Linked DNA regions of Homo sapiens: regions 2, 3, 4, 5 and 6 are each linked to region 1. The links are contacts of gene promoters, found by promoter capture Hi-C in blood cells and fetal thymus (Javierre and others, 2016). All regions are on one chromosome and are shown on one strand. The core of a region is centred on a gene start or on the middle of the fragment in contact, and the rest is flanking DNA. Distances in the headings are between cores, read along the strand shown. Region 1 holds the start of NVL (nuclear VCP like). Region 2 overlaps LOC105373061 (a long non-coding RNA gene). Region 3 has its middle 35 kb from the start of TP53BP2. Region 4 overlaps TP53BP2 (tumor protein p53 binding protein 2). Region 5 has its middle 70 kb from the start of FBXO28. Region 6 has its middle 9.4 kb from the start of TP53BP2.

Evidence for each region. The method cuts DNA at HindIII sites, captures the fragments that hold promoters and counts their contacts. A CHiCAGO score of 5 or more calls a contact.
Region 2: a fragment that was not itself captured here is called in contact with the fragment with the promoter of NVL in region 1 in 5 of 17 cell types (naive B cells, total B cells, total CD8 T cells and 2 more); the score reaches 8.9 in naive B cells.
Region 3: a fragment that was not itself captured here is called in contact with the fragment with the promoter of NVL in region 1 in 1 of 17 cell types (naive B cells); the score reaches 6.3 in naive B cells.
Region 4: a fragment that was not itself captured here is called in contact with the fragment with the promoter of NVL in region 1 in 6 of 17 cell types (naive B cells, total B cells, monocytes and 3 more); the score reaches 12.4 in naive B cells.
Region 5: a fragment that was not itself captured here is called in contact with the fragment with the promoter of NVL in region 1 in 5 of 17 cell types (total B cells, naive B cells, naive CD8 T cells and 2 more); the score reaches 7.3 in total B cells.
Region 6: a contact is called between a fragment that was not itself captured here and the fragment with the promoter of NVL in region 1, in 1 of 17 cell types (total B cells). The highest score is 6.3, in total B cells.

What each region holds. Positions count from the first base shown.
Region 1 is chr1:224,328,035-224,332,422 of GRCh38, forward strand. NVL (nuclear VCP like) reads right to left here and starts at 2,138. Exons shown (of 23, transcript NM_002533.4): 1 at 2,037-2,138. The coding sequence starts at 2,093. RefSeq lists enhancers at 1,706-1,845, 1,896-1,945, 2,136-2,185, 2,206-2,355. The HindIII fragment of the contact is 14,633 bases long and covers 1-4,388 here.
Region 2 is chr1:224,059,209-224,063,342 of GRCh38, forward strand. All of the region lies in intron 1 of LOC105373061 (a long non-coding RNA gene), which reads left to right. Among named protein-coding and RNA genes, the nearest start is that of FBXO28, 53 kb to the right of the region's middle. The HindIII fragment of the contact is 2,114 bases long and covers 917-3,030 here.
Region 3 is chr1:223,878,969-223,883,240 of GRCh38, forward strand. No RefSeq gene overlaps it. Among named protein-coding and RNA genes, the nearest start is that of TP53BP2, 35 kb to the left of the region's middle. The HindIII fragment of the contact is 501 bases long and covers 1,011-1,511 here.
Region 4 is chr1:223,833,650-223,837,903 of GRCh38, forward strand. All of the region lies in intron 1 of TP53BP2 (tumor protein p53 binding protein 2), which reads right to left. Among named protein-coding and RNA genes, the nearest start is that of TP53BP2, 10 kb to the right of the region's middle. The HindIII fragment of the contact is 3,367 bases long and covers 185-3,551 here.
Region 5 is chr1:224,041,698-224,046,043 of GRCh38, forward strand. No RefSeq gene overlaps it. Among named protein-coding and RNA genes, the nearest start is that of FBXO28, 70 kb to the right of the region's middle. The HindIII fragment of the contact is 4,153 bases long and covers 682-4,346 here.
Region 6 is chr1:223,853,180-223,857,491 of GRCh38, forward strand. It overlaps the pseudogene PHB1P11. Among named protein-coding and RNA genes, the nearest start is that of TP53BP2, 9.4 kb to the left of the region's middle. The HindIII fragment of the contact is 8,345 bases long and covers 1-4,312 here.

The sequences.
Region 1 (4,388 bases), core at 888-3,387:
GGTTTTGAGCAGGGCTATGGCAAGCTCTGATTTCCCCCCCCTTTTTTTTAGTTATACTTTAAGTTCTGGGATACATGTGCAGAACATGCGGGTTTGTTACATAGGTATACAGGTGCCATGGTGGTTTCCTGCACCCATCAACCCGTCATCTACATTAGGTATTTTTCCTAATGCTATCCCTCCCCTAGCCCGATTTTTCCCTTTAAAAGGATGTCTTGGCCACGCCTGTAATCCCAGCACTTTGGGAGGCTGAGGCGGGCAGATCACCTGAGGTCAGGAGTTCGAGACTAGCCTGGCCAACATGGTGAAATCCCATCCCTACTAAAAATACAAAAAGTAGCCAGGCGTGATGGCATGCACTTGTAATCCCACGTACTCGGGAGGCTGAGGCAGGAGAATCACTTGAACCCAGGAGGCAGAGGTTGCAGTGAGCAGAAAAAAAAAAAAAAATTAGATGTCTCTGGCTGCTCTGTGGGGAATAGGCTTTAGGTAAAAGCAGAATCAGAGAGATCAGTTAGGAGGCTATTGTAATAGTATAAGGTAGAGATGATGGTTTGGACTAAGATGGTTACAGGGAAAGACAGTAAGAAGTACTTGGAATATATTTTGAAAGTAAAGCCAACCAGGCTGTTGACAGATGGTATACAGGAAATGAAAGACTCAGAATGATCCTTAAGGTTTTTGGCCTTAACAACAGGACGAACGGTAGTATCATTTACTGAGATACAGAACACTAAGAAAGGGCAGATTTGAAGGAAGAAAAAAATCACAAATTCCACTTGGCCATTTTAATTTGGAGATATGCTGACTAGGCAGCTGGATATATCAATCTGTACTTCAAGATAAAATCTGGACTGGAGATATAAAGTTAGCAGTCATAAATATACAGAGGCCAGTGCAGCAGCTTGCACCGGTAATCCCAGCACTTTGGGAGGCTGAGGCCCGATCGCTTGAGCCCAGGAGTTAGAGACCAGCCAGAGTAACATAGTGGAACCCCGTCTCTACAAATAATAATAATAATAATAAATTAGCCAGGTGTGGTGGTGCACACCTGTAGTCCCAGCTACTGGGGAGGCTGAGGAGGGAGGATCACTTGAGTCAGGGAGGCCGAGGGTGCAGTGAGTTATGATTGTGCCCATAAACAGCCACTGCACTCTAGCCTGGGCAACAGAGCGAGACTATGTCTCAGAAAAATAAAAATAAAATGAAATAAATACATAGATAATAGAGTATGTAGATACTACTCAAAGGTTATTACACTAAATGAGATCACATAGGAAGTATGGATAGATAAGAAAGGTGTATGAGGAAAGAGGAGGAAGGGGAGGTAAGAGAACAGTGGCACAGAGCACTTCCAACATTTACAAGTTGGTAGGAAAAGATGGGTCCGAAAAGGAGATTGTTTAGGGGCTGGTGAAGTGAAAGAAAAACAAGGAGAATGTGTAGCTCACAAATTCCTAAGTGAAGAAAATTCTCTCCCACCTTTTAACTCAGACTGCTTGCTTACATTCTGAGGTATTTGCCACACACTGCTTTTTACTGATGGTCATGAAAATGAGAAAACCGTAGGCAAAGTGCCTGTTACTGTTGCCAGACCCATGTTATCTCGTTTTAGTGTGTAAGTTCCTTGAGAACGGAAATTAACATATTATTTATGCCACCCCTTCTCAAGGACCTCTTACAATGCGAGCGTTTGAAGACCATTCCTGTGCTAACTTCACAAGCCAAAGAGGTTAAAATTCAAAGGCTACCTCCACTCTACTGAATGATCTGCGCTGAAGACGACCAGACAACTTGGGCAGCCCTACCAAGCTGCACCCTCCCACCATCCCCGGCTTCTCCCTGAGACTCCGCACCAACGTGGGTAGGGAAGGCCCCGGCAGCACCAACTAAGGAGAAACAGACGCACGCCCAGACCCAGACTGGGGAAAGAAGACTAGTTGAGTTCCACCTGGATGCCACCCGACAAAAGGGGAGTGGCACCCTGGGGCAGCGATCGGGGCCCTTGGCGAGGCCAAGCGGTGCAGAATACACACCTGGATGACTCGCTGCTTGAGTTTATTATCCACGAACCCTGCAGGTCTGGGCTTCATCGCGTCGGTCTTCCAAGCCACAGCTCGGACCGCCAGCTCCTAGTCAACCGGGGGCCTCGTAGGGGTTGCCCGCCGCGATCGCCGGGCCAGTTGCACCTGAAATGCGCCCCTCCTGGGGCCTAGCCCGCGCCGTTTCCGTCAGAATAAAAGTAATGCGAATGAAGGGGAAAAAATTCCGAGGAGAGGGAGAAGACTTGAAAACCTCAGGGAGTTTCTAGGGGCCTTATTTTGCAGGCCTGCCCAGTGGACCCTGGAAGATTAGGACCCCTTTGAACGCGCTCAACTTTATTGGTTCCCCGCCGGGCGAACCAGGTGGGAGGAAGTTCCTACCCCGGCGCGGTGTGCGGAGACGCTGTCAACGGCGTCCTCTGGAAAACTTGGTTTGCTTTCCTCAGGCGTTCCAGCCACACCTCATTCTGATACAAAGCTAGTCTTCGCAAAACCAGCCACGGTAGATACTTGGAGTGATAAAATCAGGGTAAAAACACACCACCAGCCGCTGCTTGCTTTCCCACGTAGTTATCTTACATTTTAGAGGCCCGACAAAAGGGCTAGGTGAAAAAGAAAAGGAAGGACGGATTTATCCAGATAACTAAGTCATTTGTTACTTTTAGAACTCGTTTGACTTACGCTGTTATCATCGGCAGGTAATTTGTTGAATATATCCAGTGCAGGACTCCTTGGCCCAGAATTTTATCAAACGTTTGTATTTGCCCCAAGAAGTTTATCCTGCACTTAGGGAGACACAAAGGGACAGTTACCAAGCATTAAAAAAAAAATGCTGGCTTTAGTTTCTGTCTTCTTGTTTATTTCAACCGTGTTTTGAGTATTCTTATTTCAGGTCCTCCTTGGCTTATGACAAGGTTAAGTGCAGTGTATTAAGGGGCAGAGGGGAGAGAAAATGGAATTAAGAGAAGGGCGTGAGGCCGGGCACGGTGGCTCACACCTGTAATCCCAGCACTTTGGGAGGCCGAGGCGGGCAGATCACTTGAGGTCAGGAGTTCACGACCAGCCTGGCCAACATGGTGAAACCTTGTCTCTACTAAAAATATAAAAATTAGCACTGAATTAAGTATTAGATTTCCCACTCAAAATATTGATCCGTTTGGTTGCAACTTCATTTCCTACTTCTTCACTATGTGTAGTTTTATTTTTTATTTTTTTAGTTGTAAAATATAAGAACATTCACCATCTTAAACATTTTAAAGTGTGCAGTTTAGTGATAATACATTCATAATATGCAACCATCACTGCCATCTAGTTCCAGAACTCTTTTCATCTTGTACAACTAAAACTCTATACTAATTAAAAAATAACTCCCCATTCCTCCCTCCCCCCAGCCCCTGGCAACTACCATTCTACTTACTGTCTTTATGATTTTGACTACACTAACTTCCTCATATAAGTGGAATCTTCCAGTATTTGACTTTTGTGACTGGCTTGTTTCTTAGCTTAATGCCCTCATATAGCATGTGTTAGAATTTCCTTCTTTCTTTTCTTTTTTTTTTTTTTTTTTTTTTGATACAGAGTCTTGCTCTGTTGCCCAGGCTGGAGTGCAGTGGCGCAATCTCAGCTCACTGCAACCTTCGCCTCCTGGGTTCAAGAGATTCTACCACCTCAGCCTCCCAAGTAGTTGGGACTACAGGTGTGTACCACCACACCCGGCTAATTTTTTGTATTTTTAGTAGAAATGGCGTTTTGCCATGTTGGCCAGGCTGATCTCCAACTCCTGACCTGAGGTGATCCACCTGCCTTGGCCTCCCAAAGTGCTGGGATTACAGGTATAAGCCACCGCACCTGGCCTTTCCTTCACTTTTAAGGCTGAATAAAATTTGGCTCTTTTGTTGCCATTCTGCCTTTTGCCATGGGATGACACAGCAAGAAGGCCCTCACCAAATAACAACTCCTTGATATTGGACTTTCCAGCCTTCTTGCATTCATTCAACAAGTGTTTATTGAGTGCCTACCAGTTTCAGTCTCTGCTCTGCGCTTTAGGCTTGTGGGGAAAAGTGGAAGAATTATAACTAACTTTTTATAACATTTAAAAAATTTGATTAGGTATTTATGTGCTTGATTAAATGTTAGCAAAGATTCCCTACAGCATATAGTACAAATGTAGTCAATGCTCAGTAATTTTTAAAATGAAATGTAATTCTGTGCATGCCAAATGTCCAACATAGAATGAAAACACACTGAGGCCAGGCATGGTGGCTCATGCCTATACTACCAGCACTTTGGGAGGCAGAGGCAGGTGGATCACCTGAGGTCAGGAGTTCAAGACTAGCCTGACCAATG
Region 2 (4,134 bases), core at 724-3,223, 270 kb before region 1:
GAACAGCTTGAAGATCTTATATACCACCCCACCACAGTGTTTCTAAAGGTTAGGCAATGTCACTGAAAATAGAGAAGAGGAAAGGTACATCCAGAAGGTGGAATAATAACCCTCCAAAGACATCCACATTCTAATCCCCGGGATCTGTGAAGACGTTACCTGATGGAGCGAAAGCGACTTTGCAGATGTGATTAAATTAAGGGCCTTAAAAAAAAAAAAAAAAAAAAAAGAGAGACAGAGAGATCACTTGGGTATTCGGCATATTCGATTCCCTCTAAAAGGTTCTGTATCATATTTATTCACTGAGCAAAGTCACCCTGTCAGTTTCAGAATTTGAGGTCAAAGTCATTTTGAGAAATAAAGGCAGATTGTCTTTTGGTTGTTCGATTTGTCTTGAAGGATATGGTATTTGTCAAAACAGCAGTTATTCTCAAAAAGAATTCTATTATGTACTCTTAGAGATCAGAAGCTTTTTACTAATACTTGTTTATTTTCATTAACTGGGGAAAATATGAGTATTGTTTATTTTTACTCCTTTCTATGCTGCAAGTTAATAAAAATAAATCCCTTCAAAGTTAGTGATCAATGCAATGAAACAATATATTTAAAAACATTTCAATTAAATTAACTAAATATAAAAAAAAAAAAAAATAAAAAAAAAAAATAAATAAATTAAGGGCCTTGAGGTGGGGAGATTATCCTGTATTATCTGGATGGGCCCAATCCAATCACACTGTTCTTTTCATCAGAGAACCTTTCTTGGCCGAGTTCGTAGTCAGAGGGAGATGTGACTACAGAAGAATGGTTGGACACGTGCAACACTGTGGGCTTTACAGAGGAAGGAAGGGGACATGAGCCAAGGAACTCTGGCAGCCTCTAGAAGCTAAAAAAGGCAAGGAAACAGATTCTCCCTTAAAGCTTCCAGAAAGGGACACAGCCCTGTAACACTTGGATTTTAGCCCAACTGGGTGTGTGTCCCGCTAGTGATCTCCAGAACTGTAAGATAAGTGTGTGTTGTTTTAAGCCATTAGGCTTGCTCGTGATTACTTGTTATAGCAGTGATAAGAAACTGATACACTGGCTTTTTTTTTTTCAAACAGATTCTCACTCTGTCACCCAAGCTGGGGTGCAGAGGCATGATCTCAGCTTACTGCAACCTCCAACACCCGGGTTCAAGCAATTCTCCTGCCTCAGCTTCACAAGTAGCTGGGACTACAGGCATGCACCATCACGCCTGACTAATTGTTGTATATTTAGTAGAGATGAGGTTTCACCATGTTAGCCAGGCTGGTCTTGACATCCTGACCTCAGGTGATCCACCCACCTCGGCCTCCCAAAGTGCTGGGATTACAGGCATGACCCACCACGGCCAGCTGGCATATTTTATGATGCTAAAAAGATTGGGTACTATCTATTCTCTAATACTTGCTAAATCTTCATCTATTGTAACAGGAAATAAATTGATAGTGGCCAAAAAGGATAAATTTTAAAATAACAGTTTAAGCATATTCTTTACATATAGAGGTAAATATCAAAAGAAATGCCCAAGAGAAGTGAAAGTGGTTGCCTCTGCCGAGTGAGACTAAAAGATGGGGCAGGAATCTGCTGTTTTGGTACTACTGATGCAATTTTTAAGAATCAGAATGCACTAAAACTTTGACTTAAGAAATGCTAAAACAATGTAATTAGACCAGTGTTTTCTTTCATATAAGCAGGTATTGTCTAGAGCTGTACTGTTCTACATAGTTAGCCACTAGCTCTATGTGGCTTTTACATTTCATGTTAAAATTAACTAAAATTGGCCGGGCATGGTGGCTCACACCTGTAATCCCAGCATTTTGGGAGGCCGAGGTGGGTAGATCACCTAAGGTCTGGAGCTCAAGACCAGCCTGGCCAAGATGGTGAAACCCTGTCTCTACTAAAAATACAAAAATTAGCCGGGCGTGGTGGCATATGCCTGTAGTCCCACCCAGCTACTCAGGAGGCTGAGGCAGGAGAATCTCTCGAACCTGGGAGGTGGTGGTTGCAATAAGCCGAGCCTGCACCACCGCACTCCAGCCAGGGTGACAGAGTGAGACTCTGTCTCAAAAAAAAAAAAAAAAAAAAAACTAAAATTAAATTAAATTAAAAGTTCAGTCCCTCATTCACACTAGCCACACTTTGTGTGCCAGACAGTGTATTGGATTCGTAGATTAAGAACTTTCCATGAGAACATTCTATTAGGCTATGCTGGTCAAGGTTCTTTTGTTCTCTGCCCTGCACACCCCTGAAGCCGTTTGGGTTTGTAACTATTGCCTAGCGGCAAGATAGGGCTACAGATGTGAGTGTATGGGAGCCTGCAGGCCAGTTAAAGGAGTTACATCTGCCAGTCAGGATTAATGGAAAGCAAGATTAGAAAAGGAACAGACCAGCTCACCAGTTATCTAGGACTGCATACCAAACCACCTCAAAACATATGTGTTGTACAATAACCATTGTATTTGACCCTCAGCTGGAACATCTAAGGATGGTCTCTCTGTGTGGCCTGGGCTTCTTCATCACATGGTGCCTGGGTCCAAGAAACAGGAAGTGGAAGCTGCCAGGTTCTGAAGACCTGGTCCTGGAGACTGGCACTGCTCACTTCCACTATATTTCATTAGCCAAATAAGCACAGAACCCAGATTCAAGGAGAGGTGACATAGACTCCACTTCTCAATGAGAAGAGTATCACAGAATTTGGGGGCCATGTTTTAAAACCACCAAAGCTCAGAACTCCTCTTCTTCCTTATCAATGTCTACTTTTCAAGGAAAGATTTTTTTTTTTTTTACAAAACCTTTATAAAGACAGTTTTTACAACTTGCATGCCTTTGCTATTCTATAACTATAAAGTACCCCACTACATGTCAAACGCTGTGTAGACTGTTACTCTTTCAAGCAATGACATAAAGGAAGAAATAGAGAAATGCAATATGAAGAGAGATTCTTTTTTCTTTTTCTTTTCTTTTTACATTTTTTTACATTTTTCCCTAAAAATTTCACTGAAGTGAGAAAGCTTTTTTAGATGGAAGAAAACATGAACATGTTTATAGACAGGAGAAAAAGGGTGTTGCCAATATAGAAAAAGATTCTAAGTGTTGGTAGAGAAGGAAGGAATTGGCTAAAGAGTAGCAGGGAAGGTGGAGCTGATTTCCAGATTAATTTTTTTTAAAAAGGCCAGATGCGGTGGCTCATTCCTGTAATCCCAGCACTTTGGGAGGCTGAGGTGTGTGAAATGCTTGAGCACAAGAGTTCAAGACCAGCCTGGGCAACATGGGGAAACCTGTCTCTACTAAAAATACAAAAATTAGCCAGGTATGGTAGTACGTGCCTGTAATCCCAGCTACTCAGGAGGCTGAGGCAGGAGAATCACTTGAACCCAGGAGGCGAAGGTGAGCCAAGATTGTGCTCACTCCAGCCTGGGTGACAGAGTGAGACTCCATCTCAAAAAATAAAATAAAATAATTTAAAAATTTAAAAAAGAGTACCAGGGAAGGAATTTACATCAGGCCACAGGTGGCTACTAATCCTTTGTCCCTTCCAGAAATTTTTACATTTTCCTTTTAACGAGTCTGTGTCTTTCTCCCTATGAACATTAAAAAGCACATTTGCACAGAACACTGTGCGGCCCACTTGGAATCCAATTCTAAAGGCGAAATAGCCTTCAATTCCATTATTTCTACCACTACCTCGCCCCACTTAGAAGAGGGTGTGCATGTCAGTGTTAAATGCTGCTCCTCCAACGGTTCTTCCAAGAAGCAAAGAAAACAGACTGCTGCAATGGGATCTCTGAGCAATTCTGATTTGCTGGGAATTGCAAAGGTTTTCTTTTACTCAGTGTTCTTGAGGTTTTGCTTCCATCTTCGAGAAATGATCCTTTTACCACTCCAAATTATTCACCTAGAGAGACACTTGCAAGTCCACAGAACACAAAAATGGCACTTATTAAACATTTAAATCACCTATAGGGTAATTATCAGATAAATACAGTATAAGGTTGCATTATTATCGTCTCTATGCCTGACATTTTCATAAAGCCATTTTATTCTGCAGTTTAAGAGAAATGATTACCAATAAAGCTTTTTTTTTTTTTTGAGACAAGAGTCTCACTCTGTCGC
Region 3 (4,272 bases), core at 11-2,510, 450 kb before region 1:
AAAATCAAGACACCAGCAGATTTGGTGTCTGGTGGGGACTCTCTGCTTCATAGATGGCACCTTTTTGCTGTGTCCTTACATGGCAGAAGGAGTGAACAAGCTCCCTTGGGCCTCTTTTATAAGGGCATTAATCCCTTCATGAGGACAGAGCCTTCATTACCTAATCCCCTCCCAAAGACCACACCTCTTCACATTATTGCTTTGGGGATTAGGTTTCAACCTAACATTCAGCACCCTTTGAAATCTCTACCTCTTTTTCCTTCCTCCCCAACTCCATCCCCCAGGTAGCCAGCCACCATCTGATTTCTCTCATTACAGATTACCTTGCATATTCTAGAATTTTATGTAAGTGGAATCATACAGTATATACTTAGGGGAGATGACTTTTTTCACTTAACAATTATTTTGAGATTTATCTATATTTTTATGTATCTCAATATTTCATTTCTTCTTTGTTGTTATCATGATTGTTAAGTAGTATTTCATTGTCTGGATGTACCACAATTTGTTTGTCCATTAATCTCTTGATGAACCTTTGAGTTGTTCTCAGGTTTGAGCTATTTCAAATAAAGCTGTTAGGCCAGGCGCAGTGGCTCACACCCATAATCTCAGCACTTTGGGAGTCTGAGGCAAGCAGATCACTTGAGGTAAGGAGTTCAAGACCAGCCTGCCCAACATGGTGAAACCCCGTCTCTACTAAAAATACAAAAATCAGCCAGGTGTGATAGCACACACCTGTAATCCCAGCTACTTGGGAGGCTGAGGTGGGAGGATCGCTTGAACCCAGGAGGCGGAGGTTCCAGTGAGCCAAGATCGCACCATTGCACTCTAGCCTGGGTAACGAGTGAAACTCTGTCTCAAAAAAAAAACAAAAACAAAAACAAAAAAATGAATAAAGCTGTTATGAACACATTCGTGTATAGGTCTGCCTAGACACATCATGTTCTCATTTCTTTTGGGTAGATAACTAGGAGTGGTCATATAGTAGCTATACATTTAACTTTTTTAAAAGCTTTCAAACTATTTTCCAAAGTATTTGCACCATCTTATGTTCCACCAGCAGTGTATGAGAATTCCAGTTACTCCAAATTCTTGCCAACACTTGGTATGGTCAATCTTTTTTCATTACAGCCATTCTAATTAGATTACTAATTAGACAGTGATGTTTCATTGTGCTGTTAATTTGTTTTTAACATAAAAATTTAAATACATTAATGCAAGTAATTTTCATGATTAATTTCATAATTTTTTACTACTGTAATAATCATATTAGTTGATTTTATTAATTAGTTTAAATAATTAAAATCAGATCATTTACTAATGACTAATGATGAGGATCTTTTCAGGTATTTACTCGCCACCTATATATCTCCTTTGGTGAAATATATCTGTTCATATCTTTTATGCATTTTTAAAGTTGGGTTGTTTGTTTCTGTATTATTGACTTTTGAGAGTTATTTATACATTCTGGATATAAACCCTTGCCAAAAGCAATCAAACCTGAAGGATTAAGCTTCTGATCTAACTACTGGCTTATAGGAAATATAGGGGACCAAACAACAGGTTAGATCAGTGGTCCCCAAACTTTGCAGCATGAGGGACCAGTTTTATGGAAGACAATTTTTCCACAGATGCAGGCGGGGAGGAGGGATGGTTTCAGGATGAAACTATTCCACCTCAGATCATCAAGCATTAGATTCTCATACAGAGCATGCAATCTGATCCCTCACATGTGCAGTTCACAATAGGGTTCATGCTCCTATAAGAATCTAATGCTGCCACTGATCTGACAGGAGGCAGAGCTCAGGCGGTCATGCTCACTTGCCCGCCATTCACCTCTTGCTGTGCGGTCACATTCCTAATGGGCCACGGACCCGTGGGTTAGATGACACCCAGGAGACACAATTAGAAAAATCCAAAAGATGAGAAACTCTATAGGTCACATGGTCCCATTTCTTCAAAAGCACCTTGCAAAGGAAAGAGGGAGTGAGAGAAGGACATAGGAAGAGCACACAGATCAAGAGACTGTGTCTACACTTTATTTGAATCCTGATTTAAATATTAAACTATGGGGAGAGGGAGAGAGAAGAGAATTGAATTGGGGAAATGTAAACACTGACTGGATATTTGATGATAGTAAGGAATTATTGTTTTTTGTCACTGCAAGGATAATGTGAAATTTCTTCAAAATAATCAATAGCCAGCGGGAGCGAGTAGAAGTAAGGATATAGATGAAATGATGTCCATGAGCTAGTAGTTGAAGCTATGATGGATACGTGAAAGATCATGATGCATTTACTTTTGAATATATTTGAATTTTATGTTATTAAAAATTTTTTAAACAAATCAAAAAAAGTAATTATTTCATTTCACTCCAGCAGACTAGCATAGACAAGCTGAAAATCAATGAGCCAATGAGAATCCACCTAAGAAAGTCATATAAAAATAGCAAAATAAACTAAAAGAAAGCAGAAGGAAGGAAATAATAAAAAAAATACAAATTGTAAACAAATACACAAGACAGAAGAACAATAGAGTCAAACTTGGCCCCTTTGGAAACCCCAATCAAATGATGAACCTCTGATGATAATGATCAAGAATAAAAAAAGAATGTTCAAATAATCAACATTGTAAATGAAGAGGGAAACATCTTAATAGAAACTGAAGACATGAAAAATCTTTTAAAAGGATGCTTTAAACAAGTTTACGCCAATGAATTTTCCAATTTAGGTGAACTTGGCTAATTCCTAGTACAGTACAATTTACCAAGCTAATTGATGAATAATTAGAAAACCAATAGGATTCTAAGATGTACAACACCCCTACTAAGAAAAGTATAAGCCATTATTGAGAAAAATTAAGAATGATGTAATAAATGAAAGGATAAAATTGTAAGACTGAATATTTAAAATATAGTAATTTCCCCAAAATTGATCTGTATATTCAATATTATCTCAACCAAAATCCTAACAAGTATTTGTGCACGTGTATGTGCAGGCACAAGTGTGTGTGTGAACTGACAAATTGGTTCTAAAATGTATCTGGAAATACGAAGTGACACAAATAGCCAAAACAATATTTTAAAAGAAGTACAACTTTAAAATGCATATTACTAAGTGAAAAAAGCCAATATGAAAAGCCTACATACTGTATGATGCCAACTATATGACATTCTGGAAAAGGCAAAACTGTGGAGATGGTAAAAAAATCAGAGGTTGCCAGGGGTTAGGGAGGAGGGATGAATAGGTAGGGGGAAAAAAGTAAATTATTTTAAAATACATAATGACTTAGAACGTTTACTGCCCAAATACTCTCACTGAAAAATTACCAAAGGATAGAAATGAATAAGGAAGCTGGGCATGGTGGCTCAACGTCTGTAACCCCAGCACTTTGGGAGCCCAAGACCGGCGGATTACTGGAGGCCCAGGTGTTCGAGACCAGCCTGGCCAATATGGCAAAAGCTCGTCTCTACAAAAAATACAAAAATTAGCCAGATGTGGTGGCTCACGCCTGTAATCCCAGCTACTCGGGAAGCTGAGGTGGGAGCATTGCTTGAGCCCAGGAGGTCAAGGCTGCAATGAGCCATGATCACACCACTGCACTCCAGCCTGGGTGACAGAGTAAGACTCAGTCTCAAAAAAAAAAAAAAAAAAAAAAAAAAGAAAGAAGGAAGGAAGAGAATATGAAAAATAAGAATGAACAGAAATATTGGTAATAGATGATAACACAGTAATGTGACACATAATGACATTTCAATCAACAATGGACTGCAATACAACAGTGGTCCCATAAAATTGTAATGAAGCATATATAGAAATCTGACATGTGGCATTTGATATTGGCATTGCAGGTCAAGTGGGGGAAATGATCAGTATTCAGTAATAGTGCTGGGACATTTGATTTTCCATATTTAAAACTACAAATGAATTTAAAAATACCATCTAGGTTTTGTAAGTACTCTCTTTGATATTCGCCCAATGACGAAATCACCTAACAACGAATTTCTCAGAACATATCCCTGTCATTAAGTGATGCATGACCGTATAGCTTAATATAAAAATGTATTGACCACTAGTAGTCAATTAACAATAATAATAATGGGGCTGGGTGCGGTGGCTCACGCCTGTAATCCCAACACTTTGGGAGGTCAAGGCGGGTGGATCACTTGAGGTCAGGAGTTTGAGACCAGCATGGGCAACAGGGTGAAACCCTGTCTCTACTAAAAATACAAAAAAAAAAATTAGCTGGGCGAGGTGGCACACACCTGTAGTC
Region 4 (4,254 bases), core at 618-3,117, 490 kb before region 1:
AAACCTATAGGAGTCATATCCTATCAAAGCCAGCCATGCCAAAGAAGCTCCTGGTTCTATGCCTTCCCCTCAATCCTAACTTCTTGCTGACTTCAACAAGAAGTTTCGTTCATTCACCCGTTAGTACTTACTAAATACCTATTAAGAAAGGACAGTTAAAGCAAAAGGAACACAGTGATGAAAAAGCTTGCCTTCTTTAGGGCAGAGAAGAGAGGCTGGTAGCACACAAATGAGCATGGTATATAAAGCGATATGATAAAGAATTATGGAAGTGATGAGGGGAGGATGGCTGATCATGATTAGGAAAGACACCTCAGGGTGAAGGGGACTTTTGAGCTGAGACTGAAGAAGCCACAGCCACTTGAAACATCTGAAGGAAGACATTTCATCAAAGGCCCAGAGGTGGTAATGAACTTGGACTATTCCATGACCAGAAAAAAACGCCACATCAGGAATACAGACTTATGCCAATGAGGGCAGGGAGAACAGGGGGTAGCTCAGGCAGGGCCTTGTAGGTCAAGAATAAGGAGTACGGACTTTATTGCAAGGGAAAAGTCACTAGAGTAGTGATTTACAACATGCAATTCTCAGACAAACAGCATAAGCATCACCTGGGAACTTGTCAGAAATATAAAGTTCCAGGCCCTGCTCCACATCTCCTGATTCAGAAACCCCAGAGGAGAGGCCCAGTACTCACACTTAAGTTTAAGAACCACTGCATTAGAGGGTTTTGAGCAGGGAAGTAACATGAAACTAGGTTTCTGAGTAATTTGCTGCAAATAATGTAGAGTATTAATTTCACTAGCAGATAACAACAGTGTGTATTAATCTATGTAGTATATATTAATTATAATACCAGTAGTTAACCCAACAACAATAGCAATACATTATGACACATATACACTGGTATTTATATTTGCATATTTTGAATTTCAGGGAATTCCATTTCAATTACAAGAAATATTAAGACCTAAAATTTATTTTAAATTATCTACTCCACAGTTATAGCCTCGAGTCACCAAATGAGGAATCTAAAATAGCCACTTTTCCTCACTTCTCTCCCCAGAGTAGCTCACCTGATTCCTACTCTGTCCTGTAGTGTCAATTCATCCCCATCCTTCCAGAATAACTCAAAGACCATAAAACTTCCTCCAATCCATCCATCCCTACCCACACACTCACCTCCAGCCAGAAGTAAATGTTCTCTTTGCTTCTCTGACAACCATTCACACTGTAGTTGTCTGTATCCCTGTCTTATCTGTCCTACTGGTCTATACATTCTTTAGTACACATGTTTTGGTTCTTAAATGCCTCCTCCCTGGTTTTCCTCCTCCTACATTATAACTCACTCCCCAAAAAACTCTGTCAGATCTCACACAAAGCAAATATGCAATACATGTTTGTTGGACTGAACTGAAACTGTGACGCAGGGATTCAAAGTTCCACGAAGAGGAGAAAGTTAACAGGCAACAAGAACATGACAAAGAGGATGTTCACATCCTGAAGCATCAAGAAATGTTTATCTATAAATGGTATTACTTCACAGTGAATGTTTTCAAAGCCAGACAATGTCTCAAAGAATTCTGCTTTAAGTAAAATTAAGAAACCTTTTCTCTTCTTTCAACTATGCCTGAAGCTGAATTTAGATAAGTTTCAAATTCTGAACGTATCCTCTAAAGCAACTCATCTTAGGTTACTCTGCTTCAATATCTGTCATAAACAATCAATGTATAAAGCAAAAGAACAAATACATTTAGTTAATTCCTCCCCGGCTCCAACTATTGATAAGTTTAGTGTTGGTGTGCTTCCTTCTAAACTGAGTCTTGTTTGCCAGGCATTCGTCTTATTTTATGTAAAGGTACTGTTACAGATTTCATTCTGTTTTTTACTTTTACTCACTAAGCACTACATTTTTAAGATCTATCCGTGATGATCTAACTACAACCGATCCATTGCTTCTAGTTATTTCCTTCCTACCTCCCACTTTGCTATGGAAGTAGAGGCAAGAACTACACTCACCAAAGAAAATCCAAAATAAGAATATTCATTCATCCATTAACTCAAACAATATTTATTAAATCCCTACAGTGTGCCAAACACTGTGCTAAGTGCTAGAAACACAAAGATGAAAAGGCATGCTCCATGTCCTCACAGAGCTTATGGAACAATGAAGAAGCACTGCAAACCACGAAAAGGGTGCAATGTTGAGAAATGAGAACTTCCTGGTGAAAGTACATTTAAAGCATTTGAAGTCCAGTGAGAACAGAAAAAAAAATCCCCTCCAAGCAGTGGAAGAAGGCTTAACATAAAAGAAGTACTATTAAGCTAAAACTGTAGGATGAATAAGACAAGCAGGAAGAGGACCATCTAGGGAGAGAAACACTGTGTATAAAGACACAGGAAACTGTGGCATGCCCTCACAACTATAGTCCTGGAACTGTTGAAGCACAGAGGTGGGACGCAAGGCAGGACAAAGAAGAGATGGGTCAATTCCCAACCCACAAGCCACGAATGTGCTGCAAAAACTTTCAATGCACAAAATTTGTTTTATACACATGCTGTTATGGCAAAGTCCGATGGAGCGGAGCACGTCATGGAGGGCAATATGCAAGAGTGGAGAGCAATATGCAACAGAGTACAACTTGCTGTGAGCAAGAGGAAACACAATTCCGAAGGAAGGCCGAATGAACCACGAGGTGACCGGATGCTCTTCTGCACAGCACAAGGCATTCCCACTACTGTGCCATAGCTGGTGCTATGTTTTAATAACTGACTTGGTGTTTTGAGTTTTTCAATCATTTCCATTATGCAGCTAAAAATTCTGAAATGGAAATGTATCAATGACACAAAAAGGCTGAAATCCACTGGGCTACACAATAAAGAAACTTTCTATCTCACTAAAGAGTTTATATATTTTATGCTGTAAGGAACAGAGGTCAGACTTGAAGAATTCTGGAGAGGGAAGAGACACATTGCTGTTTCAGAAAGACCACCAGGGAAGCAGTGTGTTAAATGGCCTGATGGGGCAGAGAACAGAAAAGGTAAGAAAATAGATAAGGAGAGCATTACAACAGTCCAGGCAGGAGAGGGGTGAGGCCAAACAGGTGCCCCAGGAAATGGAGAAGAGGGATCTGTGTGCCCTGGTGACTCAACAGCTCCAGGAGAAGACAGAAGAGAGGAAAAGCAGCAGGATGAAAGCCCAGGTCCGTGGCTACTAAAAGCAACAAGCAAAACCTACCAGAGAAAGATCCTATCTACCTTTAAAATAAATGCATTATCCAAAATAGATACCCCCCAAACTTTTCAGGAAATTAACAAAATTTTTGAAAATTACCTACATATCACAAACTAAGCAGTTATTATCTAGATTTTGTTGTGATGCAGAAAACACTGCCACAAAGAGACCGTTCTAGAATTAAAGTTAACTCAGACTTGATTTTCCTAGGTCACTCGCTACTTTGTGTCAGGAAAATGAAGATACTATTGTTTTAAAATTAAAAAAAAAAGGGGGGGGGCGGGGGGTCAAGGAACTTTTAGGTTGAAGCATCAGAAGCTTCCAGAGCACTCTGGTCATGTGGTCAAAAGTAAAGCTGTCCTAAAGCATTTTAAGACAGACTATGGCTTCCTTGAGAAACCTGATACACCCTACTCAGTTGAAAAGAAACATGGTGACAGAAGGCTTTTTCTCAAGCCTAAATTTAAACTGCTCTGTGTAGCTGTCAGAGCTCTGTGGTGATATAAAAAGTATGGTTTCTCTTTAGCCCCATAGGAAGGAGCTTGTGGATACAGGAGTGATCTTCCACCATTCCTGTCTGGTCTTACTTCCAACCCCGGGTAAGTGCTACTGTTTCTCCTCTCACCCCTGGGGCTTCTGAGGGTCACTAAAACAATTTATTAGAGCAAGTGACAAACTCTTGAGTGCCTTCACAACCAATTCTGTCAGCTGGGCCTTAGGTGTGGTAAAAAATAAAAAATAAATAAAATTAAAACCCTTTAATTTATTTTTGGCAGCTTTCTGTAGACTTTCCTACTCTTCCCACCTTGCCCAAGTCTTACACTCTGGCACCTCTAAGGTCCACTGTCCACACAGCAACAGAGTGAGCTTTCCTAATCAATCAGGTTGTCACTTTTGCTAACTAAACCTCTTCTGTGGCTCCCACGTCCCTTCCCATGCCACCTCCACCCTTCCCTCTGGCCCGCGAAAACCTATATGCTGACAGGTCTTTTGCTTCGGCTCTTGTCACTCTGCCCTCT
Region 5 (4,346 bases), core at 1,508-4,007, 290 kb before region 1:
TCCTGCATGGTCTCACCCAAACTATCATCCACATCATGTGCCTCCTGGTTCCCCTTCGCACCATTGCTGACCAAACTGAGCTACCCTGTTGATGTTTTCCTAAACAGATCCCAGGGAGCCCCTTCTCAGATCTTTGATCATACATTCCCTTCCCCTGGCGTAGTCAGACAGCATTTTGTATATGAAGCTCATCCCTTTAAGGCACTTACTGTGCACCAAAAGACAGCAGAGGTGAGAGCCACAAATAGCCTCCAGAATCCTGTTTCCCAGCGGTCAGTCACACCTGGGAGCACGCTCTCAGGCACCCTTTAAGAGGACACTCCCAGATATCCCCCAGCTACTACCAAGAAGTCTGTGCCTGTTTCCCCTCTTGGAAAGTTTCCATTTTTGTAGACTTTTTGGGTCTTGGCTTGGGCTCCGCCTTTGTTATTTTTCTCTTCTACTGTGCCCATCTGAGCTTCAGGATCAGGTCCTCCCAGCCCCCCAGCACTAAGAGTTATGACAAGAATTCCTTTCCCTCAATTTCACAGGTCTGCATCCTCCCCATCCTTCCAGGCCCTGCTCAAATCCCACGTCCCCTATAATTTTTTTCAAATTCTTCAGGCTACAAGAACCTCCCTCTCATCTGGACCCCTGGCACACTTGATTTATTTTTCTCTTGACACTTGAACTTTCTTTTCAAGCTTTCTATGCATTTGGCCTAACCCCTTTCTAGATATGAAAATTCAAGTTTGGTAAATCTAAGTTTTACTTTTAGTTTATCTTTGTTTCCCTCCCACACTAGAAACACAGTACATGGGCCGCCATATATATTTTTTTCACAATGTATTTTAAATATTTTGCTGAATGGGTGAATAGGTGAATGATCCTCTTGCATGGGAGCCAATGTTGCAGTCTTTACATAGATTTTCCGGTCAGAGCAGAGTATCTCAGCCTTTCAGGAAATAAGCCCATAAACAGTCATCCAGTTACTTCCACCCAATTTAATCACCAAAACCTCTAGGCTGCCTCTGTTAGGTGAGCCCACTAGAATGGTGTGTTACAAACTCATAATTACAAAAGACAGAATGACAATCTAAAACCTCTCTTTTTTGACAGATATCAGTTGTCAGTATAAGTAAACACTTAAATACCAGAGGAAATGGAATGTTCACATAAGTAAGATCTTGTCCACACTTCAGTGTAGAGCCCTATGTAATACACATGCTTGGTCTGACAAATGATGAAGTGGCCACGGGTCCTTTTCAGTGGCCAGCATCCAGATCAGCAAAAACACACTACACTGATCTCCAAAAGAAAGGTTGTTACGGAGGTTAGGGAGGACTGCCAGAGGGGAGGTGGGGTTTGGAGCTACATTTCCTTGCAAATGCCCACTTTGAGGAATTGTAGACCCAAACACCACCTTCCGTCCTGCACTGCTCCCTAATCTCCAGCACAGCTACTCCCCTCCGGCACTCCTCCCTCCCCTCCAACACTCCCCCCTCCCTTCCAGCACTCCCCCTCCCTCCAGAACACCCCCCTCCCCCGCAGCGCTCTCCCTTCCTCTCCAAAACTCCCCCCTTCCCTCCAACACTCCCCCCTCCCCTCCCTCCCCTCCAGCACACCCCCTCCCCTCCAACACTACCCCCTCCCCTCCAACACTACCTCTACCCTCCAACACTCCCCCCTTCCGTCCAACACTCCCCTCTCCCGTCCAACACTCCCCCCTCCCCTCCAACACTCCCCCCTCCCCTCCAGCACACCCTCCTTCCCTCCAGCACACCCTCCTTCCCTCCAACACTCCCCCTCCCTCCAACACTCCCCCCTCCCCTCTAGCACACCCCCTCCCCTCCAACACTACCCCTCCCCTCCAACACTCCCCCCTCCCCTCCAGCACACCCCTCTCCCCTCCAACATTCCCACCTCCCCTCCAACATCCTCCTCCCCATAAGCACTCCCTCCTCCCTTCCAGCAAACCCCCTCCTCTCTAACACTCCCCCCTCCCCTTCAGCACACCCTCCTCCCCATAAGCACTCTCACCTTTTCACCAGCACTCCCCCTCCCCTCCAGAACACCCCCCTTCCTTCCAGCACTCCCCTCTCCCCATCAGTACTCCCCCCTCCCCACCAGCACCTCCCTGTCCCCAACGGCACCCCTCTCCCCACCAGCATCCCCTCCCCCACCAGCACTTCCCCCTCCTCACCAGCATCCCCTCCCCCACCAGCACTCCCTCCCCCCCAAAGCACACCTCTCCCTCACCAGCACTTCCCCCTCCCCACCAGCACCCCCTCCCCACCAGCGGTTCCCTCCTCCCCCTCCCCCACTAGCACTCCTCCCTCCCCCATTTGATGAAGCTCCACTCCTCCATTAGAATGAAGCTACATAGGCTTCATCAAATCCATAAAATGAAAAGGCAAAAACCATGTGTTTTCCAGGGGTGGGATGAGGAAGAGGTTCAATACTAAATCCAGGCTTCATTTTCTCAATAGCTGGCCAGGAATGAGTCGAGGAGACCAATGCTATTAAATGGAGTGTCCTTTGGTGACCATAACCCAATTTCACCACACATGAAAAAGTGAGCAAGATTCCAAGGTTCTAAACCGGAGAACAATGCCAAAATGGTTTTCACTTAGAATATTTTTTAAAAAGGGTTCCAGTAAAATGTATGGTTTTGAGCAACCTAATTTTCAGAGTATCTATCATTATGAATTAGGAGAAAAATTCACATTTATGGACACAACCACTTTGGAAAACCTTTGGCAATTTCTTCCAAATCTGAACACATGCGTACCCAATAACTGAGCATTTGCACTCCTAGGCATATACCCAATAGAAATGCAAACATATATTCACAAAAGACATGCACAAGAATATTCATAGCAGCACTATTTATAATCAAACACTGGAAAGAACCCAAATTCTCAGCAACAGTAGAATGGGAGAGAAACATTGGGAAATGCAGGCATGAGCATAACCAACTACTGCCGCACGCCACAACATAATGTTGCATGAAAGCCTCAAGACACAGAATGTACACGCTGCATGATTCATTTATAATTAAGTTCAAAACAGGCAAAGCTCATCCATGGTGATATAAATTGCAAGAGGAGTCATTGTGGGGACAGAAAGGAGCAAGGAAGGAGCAAGAGGGAAGCCTCCAGGGAGTGGTAATGTGTTCTCTGATCAAGGTACCATACGGAGGTACACTTAAGATTTCTACAGTTTCTGTAGATGTGTTACACTTCAATAAAAATTTACAACACACCCATCCTGGCTAACACAGTGAAACCCCGTCTCTACTAAAAATACAAAAAATTAGCTGGGCGTGGTGGCGGGTGCCTGTAGTCCCCGCTACTCGGGAGGCTGAGGCAGGAGAATGGCGTGAACCCAGGAGGTGGAGCTTGCAGTGAACCGAGGTCCCGCCACTGCACTCTAGCCTGGGTGACAGAGTGAGACTCCGTCTCAAAAAAAAAAAAAAAAATTTACAACATACACACACACACACACACACACACACACACACACACACACCCCTAAGTAACAACCAAGCTGCTAAATGGCTGTCATAACAACTACCTTTTCAAAATATCCACAAAAATAATAATTTAAAATATGAAGTCTCCATCCTTCTTTCTGACAATAATCATATCACAAAATAAAATGTTTATGAGACCACTTCTGGCTCAAGACAATAAAACCACACCATTGGCTGGGGTCAGTGGCTCATGCCTGCAATCCCAGCACTTTGGGAGGCCGAGGTGGGAGGATCGCTTGAGGCTGGGAGTTCAAGAACAGCCTGGGCAACAGAGCGCGACCCCCGTCTCTACAAAATATTTTTAAATTAGCCACACCACTAGCATCTTTGATAAGGGGAATGGGAGTGAGTATTTGAAGCATCTGAATCCAGTTTCTGGTCATTAAATCTCTTACGTTGGTATGAAAATCACCTGCCAGAGGACCTGTTTCCCCAAGCTCTAAAACTAGTCTGTGTTCAAACATGGGAATCAGAGCACGTGGAACAGCCCGGATGAGCATCAAGTGACACAGCTGTTGAGTCCCAAGGCCTTAAGGAAGGCATGGGCCTCCGATCCATTCCTGGGACAGAGCCCATCCCTGTGCGCCTGCTCCCAGCAGTGGGAATTTGCCTGATCCTGCGTCCCCAGATCCCTGCTCTGTTAATGCCACCGCTATCCTGGTTCTCCCAAGACTAGAGCTCTGCCCTGTTTGTACATTTTCTGTAGTTTTTGGTGGTTTTTTAAAAATTCTCCTTTCCTCTATTACTCGTCTATTTAATTTTGTATTCCTTGCTTCAGCTGAATGTAAAAATAAAAATGCTAAGGTACTTAAAGAAACATGGGGAAAGTGCT
Region 6 (4,312 bases), core at 320-2,819, 480 kb before region 1:
AAATTCCTGGCCTCAAGCAATTCTTCTGGATTGACCTCTCAAAGTGCTGAGATTACAGGCATAAGCCACCATGCCTGGCTAATTTTTTATATTTTCAACCTAGGCTGCTTCTCTAGGTTCTAGAACTGCATTGTCAAATGCAAAAATCACTAGCCACATATAGCTGTTGGGCACTTGAAATGTGGCTAGTGCAACTGAGAAACTAAATCTTTTATTTTAGCTTAAATGTAAATAGCCACATGTGAGTAATGGCTAAAATACTCAGCAGTGTAGATACAGAACACTTCCATCATCACAGAAAGCTCTATTGAATAGTGCTGGATTTCCATATCAACATGTCTCAACTCAGCATGTCTAAAACCAAGGGGTAGTTTTTATTCCCAATTCTGGTTCTCATCTAGTACTTCCTGTCTCAGTGTATGCCACAAGTGTTCTCCCATTTTCTCAAGCCACAGACCTGAGAATCATGTTTGACCTTATTTCTCCCTCATCTCTAAGATCTATTCAATCATCAAGGTCTATTCATTCCGTCTCCTAAATATCTCATCAAGCTCCCTTTCTTCCGTGACTACAGCCATGCTATTCAAGCTACCATCATTTCTCGTAAATCTGATCACAAGATAGCACTGCTTGATGTCCTTCCTTAACTCTGCCTCCAAGCCCTTGAATGCCTGTCTCTGCCCATCCTTCAGTGGTACTAGGTACCACAGTCCTCTCCTTCTGTGAGACTCAGCCACACCACCTTTTTCAGTTTCCCTTTTGCCCTTCATGCTTCCTCTAGCACATGCTGTAGCATAGCTCCAAGGACCTCACCTTCACACCATGTGTCACCACTGTATTCACTGTATTCATTACACTGGTTTGTGTTATTCAATTAATGTCAGTCTCTCCCACAATACTGTAACCCACAGGTAGGGACTCTACTCATCCTTGTTTAGCATGGATTCTTCAGTACTTAAAACAGTGCTCAGTCCATAATAGTAGAATGAATAAATAAATTAATTAAAGAGTGACTAAATCAATGAATTATTCATTTGTCTGTAGCTTACATGATTCAAGTCAGTGTTTCCCAGTTCTATGGCCATAGATTATATCTGTCACCCCAAATAGCCATCTCATAAATGCCTACAAAAAGTTCTGATTGAATGAGAGTGAAAGGATCTATGGAATGTAAATCTCTTGCTGAAATACAGACCTAAAGTGCTCCCCTTCTGATGATTGGCCAATGGTGGTGTCTTTCATAAACAACTATATTTATGAGGCCGGGCGGTGGCTCGCACCTGTAATACCAGTACTTTGGGAGGCTGAGGCAGATGGATTACTTGAGGTTAGGAGTTCGAGACCAGCCTGGCCAACATGGTGAAACCCCGTATCTACTAAAAATACACTGGCCGGGCGCGGTGGCTCACTCCTGTAATCCCAGCACTTTGGGAGACCAAGGCGGGTGGATCACCTGAGATCAAGAGTTCAAGACAAGCGTGGCCAACGTGGCAAAACCTTGTCTCTACTAAAAATACAAAAATTAGCCGGGTGCGGTAGTGGCCGCCTATAATCCTAGCTACTCAGGAGGCTGAGGAAGGAGAATTGCTTGAACCCGGGAGGCAGAGGTTGCAGTGAGTGGAGATCGCACCATTGCACTCCAGTCTGGGCAACAGAGTGAGACTCTGTCTTAAAATAAATAAATAAAATACAAATACAAATACAAAAATTAGCTGGGCATGGTGGTGAGCACCTGTTAACTCAGCTACTTGGGTGGCTGAGACAGGAAAATCGCTTAAACCCAGAAGGTGGAGACTGCAGTGAGCCGAGATGGTGCCACTATACTCCAGCCTGGGCAACAGAGTGAGACTCTGTCTCAGAAAAAAAAAAAAAAAACTATATTTATAACTACCGTGTTACCATGAGCATTTGAAAAAAAAAAAAAAGAAAATCTATGTGATGAGACTTTAGAAAGAAAAATTAAGGCTTCTCTATTGACAAGCAAGAGAATTTTAGCCTGAAATACTGAAAACAGGCTTCCAAGTGCCAAGAACTCACAAAGGCCCATTGGCCACCAACGAAGTATGTCGCAGCTTCCATTCTCCCCCTTGCAAAGGGGCTTTATTCTACTGTAAGGAATGTACATGTATTTCTTCTTGGTCACCTCTTAAACACACAGTGTTAGATGAGAATGAACTGAATGAACTGCATCCTAACCATTTTTAAATCATTTTTAAACTTGGGATTTATTCAAGTATTTTTCAAGAATACCTATGAAAAGCACACTGATTTTACAGCTACGTGGCCTAAGTTCCTTTGAGGAAAGGACCAGTTCTTAAAGTTCTGGGCATTCCCTTTAGCCTAGCACACAATGTTTGACTCTCAATTACTAAATGAATGTAATTGTGTTGCTGCCACAAAAGTTTTTCTCTGAATAGCTAAAGATAAATAATTAGAAAAGGAAAAACTAGGCCGGGCATGGTGGCTCACGCCTGTAATCCAAGCACTTTGGGAGGCTGAGGTGGGCAGATTGCCTGAGGTCAGGAGTTCAAGACCAGTCTGGCCAACATGGTGAAACCCCGTCTCTACTAAAAAAAAAAAAAAAAAAAAAAAATTAGCCAGGCATGGTGGTGTGCGCCTGTAATCCCAACTATTCGGGAGGCTGAGGCAGGGTAATTGCTTGAATCAGGGAGGTGGAGGTGGCAGTGAGCCGAGATCACGCCACTGTATCCAGCCTGGGCGACAGAGTGAGACTCAACTCAAAAAAAAAAAAAAGGAGAGACAAGGAGAAACTAACTCGATGATTTTATATCATCATTTAAATCCCACTTATGAGGAATTCATAACTCACTTCTAATAACTGTTATGTATGACATTCAAGTTTCTTATTGACAGTTGAGAATATTTCACCCCACCTCTTATTGTCGCCCAATGTACATTAATTGAGACAGAGTAACTTTTTTTGTATTTTGTCAGGCAGCCCCTGAACCCCAGAACAGGTTCAGAGAGACTCCCAAGAGTAAAATTTGTAAAAGTCTTGGCCAAACTCAATTTTTATTGCTCTAGTTAAGGCCCAGAGGGAGCTTTTAAAAGGTCAGCAGAGAAGGTAAATTTAGGAGACTACAAAACTGAAAAAGGAGAGTAGTATCTGCTTAGAGAGAATTTTCACTTCGAACTGATGAGTCCTCAAACTGTAACCACTGAAGATTTTTTTCTCCTAAAGTAATTGTTTTCTGAAATCTATTTTCTTTCTTTTTTTATTTTTTGAGATCTGAAGTGGTTTTACCTTTATTTCCTTCACTTTAAGTCAATCATGAAATTTCACAGTGATTTCTGGAGTGGGAGCAGAAGGGAGGCGGCGTTAAGAATCACCGGGGCTGTGGCCCGGTCAGCCCGCGGAAGTGGAGGCCGTGTGGGCCCTCACTGGGGCAGCTGGAGGAGCACGGACTGCCCCGCCAGCAGATAGGTGATGTTCCAAGAGCGTGAGAGCAGGTACGCGATGTCTTCCACAGCTTCCTGCTCGATTAGACCGTCCCCCGCGGTGACCAGTGAGTTGACAATCAGCTCAGCTGCCTTGGAGTCGCCCTCAGCAGAGATGATGGCCACCTTTTTCTGCTGCTCAGCCTTTTCCACCACAAATCTCGCCCTCTCTACTTCCTGCTGAGCCACCTGTTTGGCTTCCATCGCTTCTGTGAACTCCTTCCCGAAGGTCAGATGTGTCAAGGACACGTCGTCCAGGATGAGCCCAAAGGTGGCTGCTCGCTCCGTAAGGTCATTGCTTACCTACCTGGAGACCAGCTCTCTCTGGGTGATTAGCTCTCCAGCATCAAAGCGAGTCATCGCTGACTTGAGGATGCCGGTCGTGATGGACAGCAGCACACGCTCATCATAGTCCTCTCCGATGCTGGTGAAGATGCGAGAAACTGGCTAGCAACGGCCCAGAAGAGGATGCGCAGTGTGATGTTGACATTCTGTAAGTCTTTGCTGCCGGCGATGACTGGCACTTTACGTGGTCGAGAACGGCAGTCAAAGATAATTGGTTTCTGTACCCAGGGGATGAGACAGTGAGTCCCTTCCCCTACCACAATGTCCTGTACTCCATGGAATCGGTCAAAGATGACAGCTCTGTGCCCAGCATCCACATTATATAAAGCAGAGTTCACCACGCCTCCTGCAACAGCTAAGGCCAGGCCAAACTTGCCGATGGACGCAAACACTTTGGCAGCCATGTTTTCTTCTGCTTGACCCTCTCACATCTGCTTCTACTCTGACCTCCACATGAATTCCCCAACCACACATACCCTGAAATCTATTTTCAAACATACATCACATT